Regions from separate parts of the Homo sapiens genome. Here region 1 is linked to region 2. The links are contacts of gene promoters, found by promoter capture Hi-C in human tissues and cell types (Jung and others, 2019). All regions are on one chromosome and are shown on one strand. The core of a region is centred on a gene start or on the middle of the fragment in contact, and the rest is flanking DNA. Distances in the headings are between cores, read along the strand shown. Region 1 overlaps SYNE1 (spectrin repeat containing nuclear envelope protein 1). Region 2 holds the start of SYNE1 (spectrin repeat containing nuclear envelope protein 1).

Region 1 (5,108 bases), core at 355-2,854, 180 kb before region 2:
CTTACAAATATCCAAAGACATTTCTTTAATGATATTTCCTCTATATTGTCAAATTTTGCTGTGAAAAATAATAGTGCTGTACCACTGAGACAAATAAATGGCTACTGAGTTTTCTCATGAAAATTCATCTAAATCGTCCATCTGGATAGCACTTTCTCATCTAAATGATTGTTTTTAGTGAGCCAGATGGCATCAAATTATACTTCATAAACCATGCAACTCATTTTCACTTTGGCCTTGAAATCTGACCTAAGACAGTCATGAATTATTATTATATTACCTAGACCAACCTGTGTCTTCCAGCTTTGTTTTCAAGAGATCGCCTACTTGAACCCTTGACTGCTGATAAACTTAGAAACCTGTTGACTCACTCTTCCCAGACAGGCCTGTGCTTTCCTGCCTCCCACCAGCTCCATGCTTTGCTGCTCCCTGCTTATCAACATCCTACTCATCCGAAGCACTAAAGTCACACCAATTTATTCATGAAGCTTCCCATGCTAGGGGAGGGCTCTGTAGTCCAAACTGATGCAGCCCTTACCTGTCACTTGTCTTGTAAAACATGTTTTAGTTTATAGACCTGCATTGTCTTAAAGATGAGGCCACTAGCTCCTGGAAATCAAGAGCTCCAGGAGGTGTCTACTCTTCATCCTCCAAGAACTTCCCACCTCTTCTCATACTTTCAGATAACCAGGGAAAGGAAATTAATCAGTATTTGTTAGTAAGCCATTCTTTGTTTTTCATATAGTATAAAGACAATAATGTTCTAACCAGATGAGGCATATTCCAAAAAGTAATCCTTGAAGAAAGTGGGAGAGGGCAACATTTTGCTCTACTGTTAAACATAGAATTATGTATGAAGAAACGTTTTTATGTTCTAGGATATACTGCCTGAAGTATACACTCATCAAAAGAAAGTTACCATCCTGCTACTGCAACAAGACTCTGATATAATTACCTTGAACAAAACCAAGAGAGTCTACTAATGTGTATACAAATCAGTGTGTTTTATTGATCTCTCCTGGGTAGAAGAGAAAACCTATCAAGATGCTGCATCTGAAACAGTAAAAAGGCAAATGACAATTTGCTTTCTCAGGGGTTGTCCTGAACACCTAAGCATGGCTCAGGCTAAGATGTGCAAGCCCAGCTATGGCCCTGAAAGCTGCTGGGGAGTTATCAAATTGGAAATGTTGACTTCAAATTGTACTTATTGTTTAGCAGCTTTTACTAGTAGCCAATATTATCATTATTGCCCACAACCTTTAAATTATAAATAATTCTAACTTGAATGTTAAAATAAAATGAACTGAACATAAACATTCTCATACATACCATATTGATAGATAAAATTTTCTCTTTTTTATGGTCATGATTTTTCCTATTTTAGCTTTTTGAATGCATTCTTTTTCATTAATTCCCTACCACTGATGTCACAGAGGTTATTCTCTTCCTTTCTACCTTTCTTTCCTATTTAACAGGGTCTTCTACTTTGTTTCTACTTTGTTTTCCCATTCTTCATTTTAAAATATTTCCATTCATTTATTATAATCACTTCTCTCTTTTACTAGAAATTAATTACCCAATCTAGGTGGATTTTGCAAACAATACCATCTTCCTAAAATTCATATTTGGATAGATAACAAATCCCAATGGAACTTCCAAAGCTCTTAAGGAAAATCACTGAATAGACTAGAAAATGCTTATGACTAGTGCTTACATCCATCTAGTTCCCTGTACAGAAAAGGTATAAATGTATATAATCTTTTTTTTTTTTTTTTTTTTTTTTTTTTTGAGACAAAGAGTCTCGCCCTGTCACCTAGGCTGGAGTGAAATGGCGCGATCTGGGCTCACTGCAACCTCTGCCTCCCGGGTTCAAGTGATTCTCCTGCCTCAGGCTCCTGAGTAGCTGGGATTATAGGTGCACGACACCATGCCTGGCTAATTTTTGTATTTTTAAGTAGAGACGATGTTTCATCATGTTGGTCAGGCTGGTCTCGAACTCCTGACCTTGTGATCTGCTCGCCTCGGCCTCCCAAAGTGCTGGATTATAGGCGTGAGCCACTGCACCTGGCCTAAATGTATATATTCTAAGCCTAAGTGAGCTCCATGAGATGAGGAGGTCAGAATTTCCACAGCTTTGTGGCTATGCTTGCAGAAAATTGCACAAATAAGTTTGGAGTGGAGATATATCAAACAAATCTTAACCAATTCTCATTTAAATTTATGATCCCCTCTTCTTCCTCCTCCTCATCTCCTTTTTCTCTTTATCTCTCTTTCCCTCTCTTGGTTTTATCACATGTAACCGTTCCCCAAAAGTATCTAACTTTCTATTAAAATATAGCTATAATACTTCTAAATTAACAGAGGTAATACTTGGTATCAGCATCATAGTTTTATTTTTTTTAATTCATGACAAAGTTACTAAATTGAGAATCCCAATTAGAAACAAAAGCATCGTTAACAAGTAAACACTTTGCCCATGGGGAGAAGGAGGTAGCAAGCAAGCTGAAGGCACTGTTGGTGTCACACAGCCTATTGTGCATTAAATTATTTTCGCACCTTGGTTAGCTGCTCTTTGAGCTTTGACATGGTCGCAAACATTTCTTTTCCTTCTTCTTGGGGGCTTTCTTTGGTAATGAGGTGTGCTGTCTTTGTAATTATCTTGTATTGGGCATCCATCACAGGCACCCTCTGCTCAATATCCTGCATGAATCATTGAAACAGCCAGATTCATACATGACACATTTCCTCTTAACTTCCGGATTCCACAGAAGGCAGAACAAAAATCAATATGCACTGTATAAAATCCAATACTTACACTAAACTTTCGACGATTCCAGTTTTTGCTTCCCTTCATTACTAATAAATATTGGTAATATTATATAGTTAATAAAATTTTCCTTTAAAAGTGACCAAAACATCAAGATTAGCTGAAATGATCTTTGTACTTTCCAAAACAAATCCCATGTTAATGTAGTATGGAAATATAAAATAAAATGTAAATGTATATTTAAAATGTGGGGGAATTCTGACTTTAAAAATTAGACTGGTTTTCGTTAAAAAAAAAAAAAGTAACTCATTGCCATTATAAAAACTTATAAATTAGAAATATTAGGATAATGACAATTTAAATTACTTATAGTCTTCTCCCACAGTAAAACCCAAAGCCAACATCTTATCTATACATCATTAAGTTTTTTTTTCCTGTGTTTACACCCATTTTAAAATTTTTACAAAGACAAAAGAATGATACTGTTGTTTGCTTTTCTCATGTAACAATATATTGCAAAATCTTACCATGTCATTAAAAATTCTTCCACTACTTCATTTGTGAGAGCTGCAGGCTATTCAAAATATGCAAATACCACAGTTCATGCAATAAATCCTTTATTATTGAAAGTATTTAGGTGCGGGTGCTATCTATAGATGTCTCCTGTTTTTTCCTAATACTTTTTAACTTGGTTGTAGAAAAAAAAAATCTCCAAACTGAGAAACAATTTGAAGTTACTTTATATGATCAAGTCATGTCTTTTTTATGTTCAATACATTTTTTTCTGACAGGTGCAAATTGGGACATACAGACATGTCAAAATGATGCCCAGGAGACACAGAAACAGCTTTTGCAATGATCTGAATAAACTTGCTGATCTTTCCTCTCACAACAGAGTAGGCTTTTCATTTTGATTCAGAAACCCCTCACCTCCAAGTCTTGAATTAATAGCTTGACATTCATAAAAGAGACTTCTAAGGGTTCAGAAAGTTTCTTATGGGCTTCCGTTGCAAAAGCAGACAGGGTAACAACACAGTCTGTGTATTCCTTCTTCATTCTGTCCATCTCATCAGCTTGAGCATACTGTTAAGGAAAGGGAGGAGGGAACATCGTGAAAGCCATTTAGCTGCGACCACTGGAACCACAACTTTCACTTTCACATATTCGCTGGAATTGTTATCCGGTAAGAAAGACTCTAATCTTTGATTCTCATTTTAGATAAATTTGAAGTAAGTCCAATTAGTTTGAAAGAAAAAAAGAAACTAGCATGAAAATGAAGAAATATGATTTGAAACGAGAATCATTCCATATAAGTAGGCTCCATATGTCAACATAATCCTTAATCAAACTAATGCATTTGTGTAATATTCCTCCATTATACATGGAAAAGAATGAAGAACCAACCATAAAACACACCGGTTTTAAACATATCTATGCTTTGCCTTAATAAACCCGTGCTCTAAAAATAGCATTCTCTCTAAACAGACTACTTATCACATTTGTAACACATACACGTTGAGGTGTATATAGACTTGAAAGACATACTTGCTTGACTTCCATAAACAACTCCCTCCACCGCCCATTTAGCAACAGTAATTGCTGCTTCAGGTCACGGGAAACCATCTCATCACAGGTTTCAATTAGAAAATTGCCAGCATCGTTCATGGCAGTATGCTGCTGAATCCAATGAGGTAAATTTCGAAAAAAATCCTAAACAATAAATAATGCACAATATCATAAACCATAAACCAAATATCAGTGACTGATATGAAAGTGACTAAAGTAGGAAAAATATTTTTGTTTTAACATTCATGTGAATTTTAAGATAAATCACAAATCTCTTTAAAATGCACATTTTTGATAAAAAGTTTCAAAATGTGAGCTAGAGATACTGTCTTTTTTTATAAGAACAATTGTGCCATATCATTTGCCGAAGACAAAACAAAACATGATGACCATTTTCTGTTATTTCTGTTTTACAGATTAAAAAGCTGAATTTCTGTAAGTGTAAGAGACCTGTGCATAACCTTCAGGCTAGTAAATACCAGTGCCAGAGTCATATAAAAGGCATAATACATTAGGGAAATATATAGCTTCCTTTTTTATTTGTATAAATTGATGGGGTATGAGTACAATTTTGTTACATGCATAGATTGTGTGGTGGTAAAGTTGGGGCTTTTATTCCTTTTTAAAGAAAGAATAGCTTTCTTTAATAATTTCTTTTTGACCTGCTACTTTTGATTTTTAAATTTCAGTGTAGTACATTAAGATAATTAGCAATCATGGAGATAAACCATCGAAGCAAAAAATTTTAAATTAAATATCTGAGTCAAGAGCACTT
Region 2 (5,701 bases), core at 2,213-4,712:
GATGCTCCCAGTTGAAAGGCATACTCTTCTTAGGAATTTGGACTACCTGCTATTTGGGATGCTCCCAGTTGAAAGGCATACTCTTCTTAACATCACTCCCTGTGAAAAAACACAGTTGTGAAATAGCACAACTCAATTTTTTCTGTCTCTTGGCAGAATGGACATTGGCTCTTAAAGCAGTTTCTTGTTTGTGTGACTAAAAAGGAATACACTAAGAAAAGCACTGAAGAAATACTACTGAGCCACAAGAATATATATAAGCAATGCAACTGAATTTCTAGGTATTAGGAAACTACTGCAGAAAATTTCAAACCCTGCAATGACCAGAGACAACGTGGCTCATTTCTAACCAAAAAGAAAATGAACTGAGAACATAAACACATAAACAGATTCACAACAGCAGGAAGTACAGATATTAATTAAATGTCTAAACATGTATAAGAATAGCACTAATATTGAAACCCACTATTGAATAAAATTTTTAGTCATGAATAAATTTCAGTTTCCCTTCTATTCAAGTCTTTTGCTGAAGAGAGTTCACATACTGTTTAATTTTAAATTTAATTATTTTTTTCTCTATTCACCCATTAATAATGGTACTAATTAATGAATACTAAGATGGCTAAAAGAGAAGAACAGGGATATCTTTGAATTAATGTAAGTATATTACTAATAAATGTGTGCAGGTTATCAGGGAACAATGCTGTTTCTTATTCACTAGTATGAATTATACAGAGTAACAATAAGAAATGATCTTTTCCATAGAAGAACATGAACAAGTAAGCAAAAGACAAAGTGTATAGCAGAAATCAGCATGAAAGATGTTCAGTGTCATAATTAAATTTTGTTTATTGTAAGCCTAAAGTATAAATTACAACCAAAGACATCTGCAACCTTCTTTTTTTCCCTTGCTACAGTATATTGCACACCTTGCCAAACATTAGTTCTCGTTAGATTAGACCACAAAGAAGTACACATTTAAGAGGAGACACACAGAGGACCTCGCAGAGGCGTTTGGGCCCTGCATGCCTGTCACATTCAGACCACAGGGTGTGGCTGCAGTAGCTAGAGCTGGAGTTGTGAAAATGCCACCAACCTTGCCCAGTTATGGGCTTCCTACATCCTGTGACAGTCACACCTCCTTTCATTTCCAAGATGCTGTGTGTGCAGCATAGTTATCAGAAAGTAGGCCCAGTGCAGCACCAAACAATTCTTGAACATTTTTAAATGGCAAACTAGCTTTTTCCAATCTCCTCTCCCTGGCAGGAAGGACTCAAGTAAAAAAGAGTTCTTAAATGAGGTCAATGAGGACAGAAGAAAACCAGTTTGTGAAAATCATTAGTTCAGAAAGATGAAAGTGAGACTATAAAATAAGAGCTAGGCAAATATTTCCAAAGCCTAGCAAATATTGTTATCTGGGTCAGTCTGAAGCTGTTTCTTAATCTTCAGCATGAAACATATTAAGTTAGTATAGATCTCTCACATTTTGTTCTAAATCTGCCACAAAGTAATGAACAGAAAAGAAAAAATAGATATGTATTTTGTCACACTGTTCCGGTGATATCAGGAACTTTTTAGCCATACTACAAATCTTTTTTCACCATGGGGAATAAAAAGCCTCTCAAAGAACAATCGTCATGACTCGTGATTAAATTCGCATTTTATGAAGATGTAGGTCATATTAATGACCTTTGCCTCATTGAAAATTATTATACTTTCTCTTGCATAGGTCTGGCTTCTGTATACGAATGTTGTCTTTAGGAAAGTCATTCTCAGATGAAGACAAAAAATGGATGGGCATTAAAGAAGAGAAAAATAATTCATTTTTAACTTTCTTAACATTCACAGGAACATTTCAGATACAAGTTTTCCACCCCAAAACGAAAAGCTCAGAAATGAACATTGTGGGATGCTAAGGCTTCATTGCTGATATTTCCCTCTGGGCTGGACCTGACTCTATTTACGGAAGGGGGCAGAACTTCCAGCATCCAAAGTCTGGGATCCCAGTCAGCACACCCAGCCTGCCTTCCCAAGGGGCTTCTTCCTGTGCGGCTGATGGCTGCTTCGTTTTGCACGGATGCCTGCCCGTTGGGATGCACCTGGCCGCCTGTGCACCACCATTTCCCAGAACTCCTCCGCCAGCAATGCAAGATCTCTCTATGTGAAACGTATCTTTATAAAGAGGAGACGAAAGTTCTCTTGCCCTCTAGTGCAGGCTCTGCCGGGAAGCAACTGCACCATGACAGCGCCGCTGGAGTCTGACGCGCCAGGGCCTCCGCGCAGCCTTCAAGCCATTTCCCTCCCCCAGCCCTTCCTAAAATAGTCAGGGGGTGGAGGAAGGGAGGCTCCTAGAATCTGTTCAACGCCCTACCTCTCCCATCTGATAGTAGCAACAGTACCGACCATCACAATAAGAGGCTGGCTGCCTTTTGCTTCTGCACCATTGGAGCCCAGGAGATGTGCCACAAGCGGAAATGACAACTCAGAGAGGGGGATATTAATAGGGACATCTACGTACGAGATGCAAAGAGGCTCCCCAACCTCCTAGTCTCCTTATCTATGAGTATCGCACACGTACACACATCACTGCCACCACCCCCTCCCATCAAGCACGCAGAGCCCCAGCGTGCAGGCACAAACTTGCTGACAATTTGTCTGCAATGTGTTCGTCTTGCACCTCTCTCTCCTCTCCCTGTCTCTGTCTCTCCCTGTCTCCCAGTCTCTGTCTTTCCTTTTACCTTCTCTCTCGGCCTCGTTCAGTTTCCCAGCAGCAAGGCGAAGCGAGCGAACGCTTCCTCCCGGCTCTCTGCGCCCAGGCTCGGCGGGACCCCGGGGATGCGCGGCTGTCCGCCCGCCCTGTCGCCGGGATCGGGCGCGGTCTGCAGGACTGCGGGAGCCCAGCCGCCCTGGTGACAGAGGACAACAATCTCAGCCCGCTGCGGCCGGCGGCCGCGGCCCGGCGCCCGCGCTCACCCTGGCTGGCTCGCCCACACTCACTCCCGCGCCGGGCTGCTCAGCCGCGCTCCCCGCCCTCCGCGACCGGTTCCTCCTCCCGGCTGCTCGCTGGGGGGTGAGGCCTCCCCCTTCGCCCTCCCCCACGCATCTACTGCTCCTGTCGGGAAGGAAGGTCGCCCAGGCCGGTTCAGCCTCTGGGCAGGGTCCCTGCACCGCCCTGGCCCGCCACACCCCCTCCCCGGCTCCGTGCCCCGCGCCCCGCGCCCGGCTCCGGGATGCGCCGGTGCCTGGAAGAGCTGGGGGCGGGGACCCGGAGGCTCGCAGGCTTCCCTACCTCCTGGAGATGCACGGCCTTGGGCGTTTCTCCGCAGCTGCAAAGCTGTGCTGTGACCCACCCGCTCAGCGAGCCTTTATACCGGGACCACCTCCCGGGGGTCGAGGTGGGAAGGAAATGTCCCTGAGAGCCGGGACGCGCTGCCTCCGCTGCCTGGAGGAGCTGCGCTGTCCTGCCAGCTAACTTTTGCCCACGGTTTCCACTGCCCGGGTGACCTTTCTGAGCGGAACCTATCCTGAAAGGCTGGGAGGTTCCCTGATGGTCCCAGGAAGGGCGTGATGCAGAGCAAAGAGCAAAACCCGCTGGCTCCTTTTTCATCAACTTCCGAAAGATCCTAAATCGTTTTGGCTGCCAAGTCAGTAGCAAATAACTTAATTTGAGGGAGACTGGTCAGGCTTTATAGATCTTTTTTAATGTTATGTATAAAGTTTAGACTTCTTGAGAAAGCGCTTGACATCTTTAATTCTTGACTGTTTATTATGATGATTCTAAAAACCACTTTTAGGTTCTTCAGGTGCACTGTATGCACCCTGTACATTGCGGAGCCATTTGTATCTTTGGCCACAAGTCCTTCTCGTGGTGTAAGAGATCTTGGTGTTGCCTGGTAGCATTCAGGAGAATTTATTTTGTTGTGGTTTTATGGTATCCAGGCAAAGTCAAACACAGTCTCTCTTCACCAACAGTGAAGTCCAAGTCCAACAGGATGATTGCAGCTAAAATAATCGAAGCCATGTTGCAATAATCTTAAAAGTAATAATCCCCCCCTTGAATCTCCAATCTGAACAAAACAGTCATTTATCCTCTAAATTTGCTGAAAGGAAGGAGCAGTTTATAAAGTAGATGAAGTTTCTCTTTGCTGCCTGCCTTTCCCTTACCTGCTGCCAACATTCCCACTGCCTAGCTTTCCATTTTCTTCAAATTCTCCTTCTTCTGGATCGTGTCAAAATAATAACATCTGAAACAAATCTGGTAAACCAATCTGATGTGTTCCTCTTCTTTGTGCTGACTTTTGTTTTTTTTTAGAGAGAGAAACCAAACAATGGATCTCTATTTGCAGAACTTGCTACCTCCAAAAGTTGGGCCTGGAGGAGGAGTGTTTGGGATCACTCTCAATGTATGCCCTGCCTCTGCCTGAGGGCAACAATCCTGGGGCACCCCCAGAGCCCCTTGTGGAGACAACCACCAGAGCATAATTATTCCAGGTCAGCCCTCTGTGCCCAGTGGCCACAAAATGGGGTCCAGATTTCCAGGCTTGCCACTCAGAAGAAACAGATCAGAATGGCTCAGCTCACCCTCTCAATCCCTACCTTCATAGAATCAATCCACCCTGCCGGCTTTTGAAGATGGGTAGAAAGTTATTGTGCCAACTTTGCCATTCTTTTTGTTTGTTTGTTTGTTTGAGATGGAGTTTCGCTCTTGTTCCCCAGGCTGGGGTGCAATGGTGCAATCTCGGCTCACTGCAACCTCCGCCTCCCAGGTTCAAGCAATTATCCTGCCTCAGCCTCCTGAGTAGCTGAGATTACAGGGATGCGTCACCACACCTGGCTAATTTTGTATTTTTAGTAGAGACAGGGTTCCTTCATGTTGGTCAGGCTGGTCTCAAACTTCCGACCTCAGGTGACCCATCCAGCTCGGCCTCCCAAAGTGCTGGGATTACAGGTGTGAGCCACTGCACCTGGCCACCAACTTGCTATTCTACACGTTAAGCAACTACTTTCTTGGGTTTACTTACTTGAGAAGTGAGCCACTTAAAACACAAGCCTGAAACATTGCTTCCACCAACTAAAACTCCTCTACTAGGCCTAATCTCTGTTCTCACAGGCTGAGACAGACAGAAGCATAGAGCTGTCTTGCTGGCATTGATTCCCTATACAGCTGAAATCCCATTCTCAGCTAAACTTTATCCTCTGTAGAAGGACTAAGCACATTTTAGAGTTTTGCAAAGGGCTTGTCAGTTTCACACACCCCAGGGAAGGGTGTTGTAGCTCCATTTACTCAACAGCTATTGCTTGAACACTTACCACATAACAAATATTGTCCTAAGTGCTGGGGCTACCGTGGTAAGCAAACTCTGACCGGGCTCTTGCCTTCATGGAGCTTACAGTATGATGGGGGAAGAGCCAGACATTCATCAGAGAACCACACAAATACTTATAAAACCCCATTCTCCAAGCAAAGGCAAATGTTGCTATGAGAGCTTTCAAGAACGGGAGTTGGCCAGGCATGGTGGCTCACACCTGTAATCCCAGCATTTTGGGAGGCCAAGGCAGACAGATCACTTGAGGACAGGAGTTCGAGACCAGCCTGGCCAACATGGTGAAACCCCATCTCTACTAAAAATACAAAAATTGGCCAGGCACGGTGGCTCATGCATGTAATCCCAGCACTTTGGAAGGCCGAGGCAGGCAGATC

What was found. Contacts are between HindIII fragments. The study calls those that stand out against the background at their distance.
Region 1: a contact is called between a fragment that was not itself captured here and the fragment with the promoter of SYNE1 in region 2, in 1 of the 25 tissues and cell types used here (hippocampus).

The regions. Positions count from the first base shown.
Region 1 is chr6:152,459,041-152,464,148 of GRCh38, forward strand. It overlaps SYNE1 (spectrin repeat containing nuclear envelope protein 1), which reads right to left. Exons shown (of 146, transcript NM_182961.4): 19 at 4,313-4,477; 20 at 3,698-3,850; 21 at 2,557-2,700. Among named protein-coding and RNA genes, the nearest start is that of SYNE1-AS2, 59 kb to the left of the region's middle. The HindIII fragment of the contact is 8,676 bases long and covers 1-5,108 here.
Region 2 is chr6:152,633,900-152,639,600 of GRCh38, forward strand. It overlaps SYNE1 (spectrin repeat containing nuclear envelope protein 1), which reads right to left and starts at 3,463. Exons shown (of 146, transcript NM_182961.4): 1 at 3,290-3,463; 2 at 2,739-2,906. RefSeq lists an enhancer at 961-1,090. The HindIII fragment of the contact is 20,643 bases long and covers 1-5,701 here.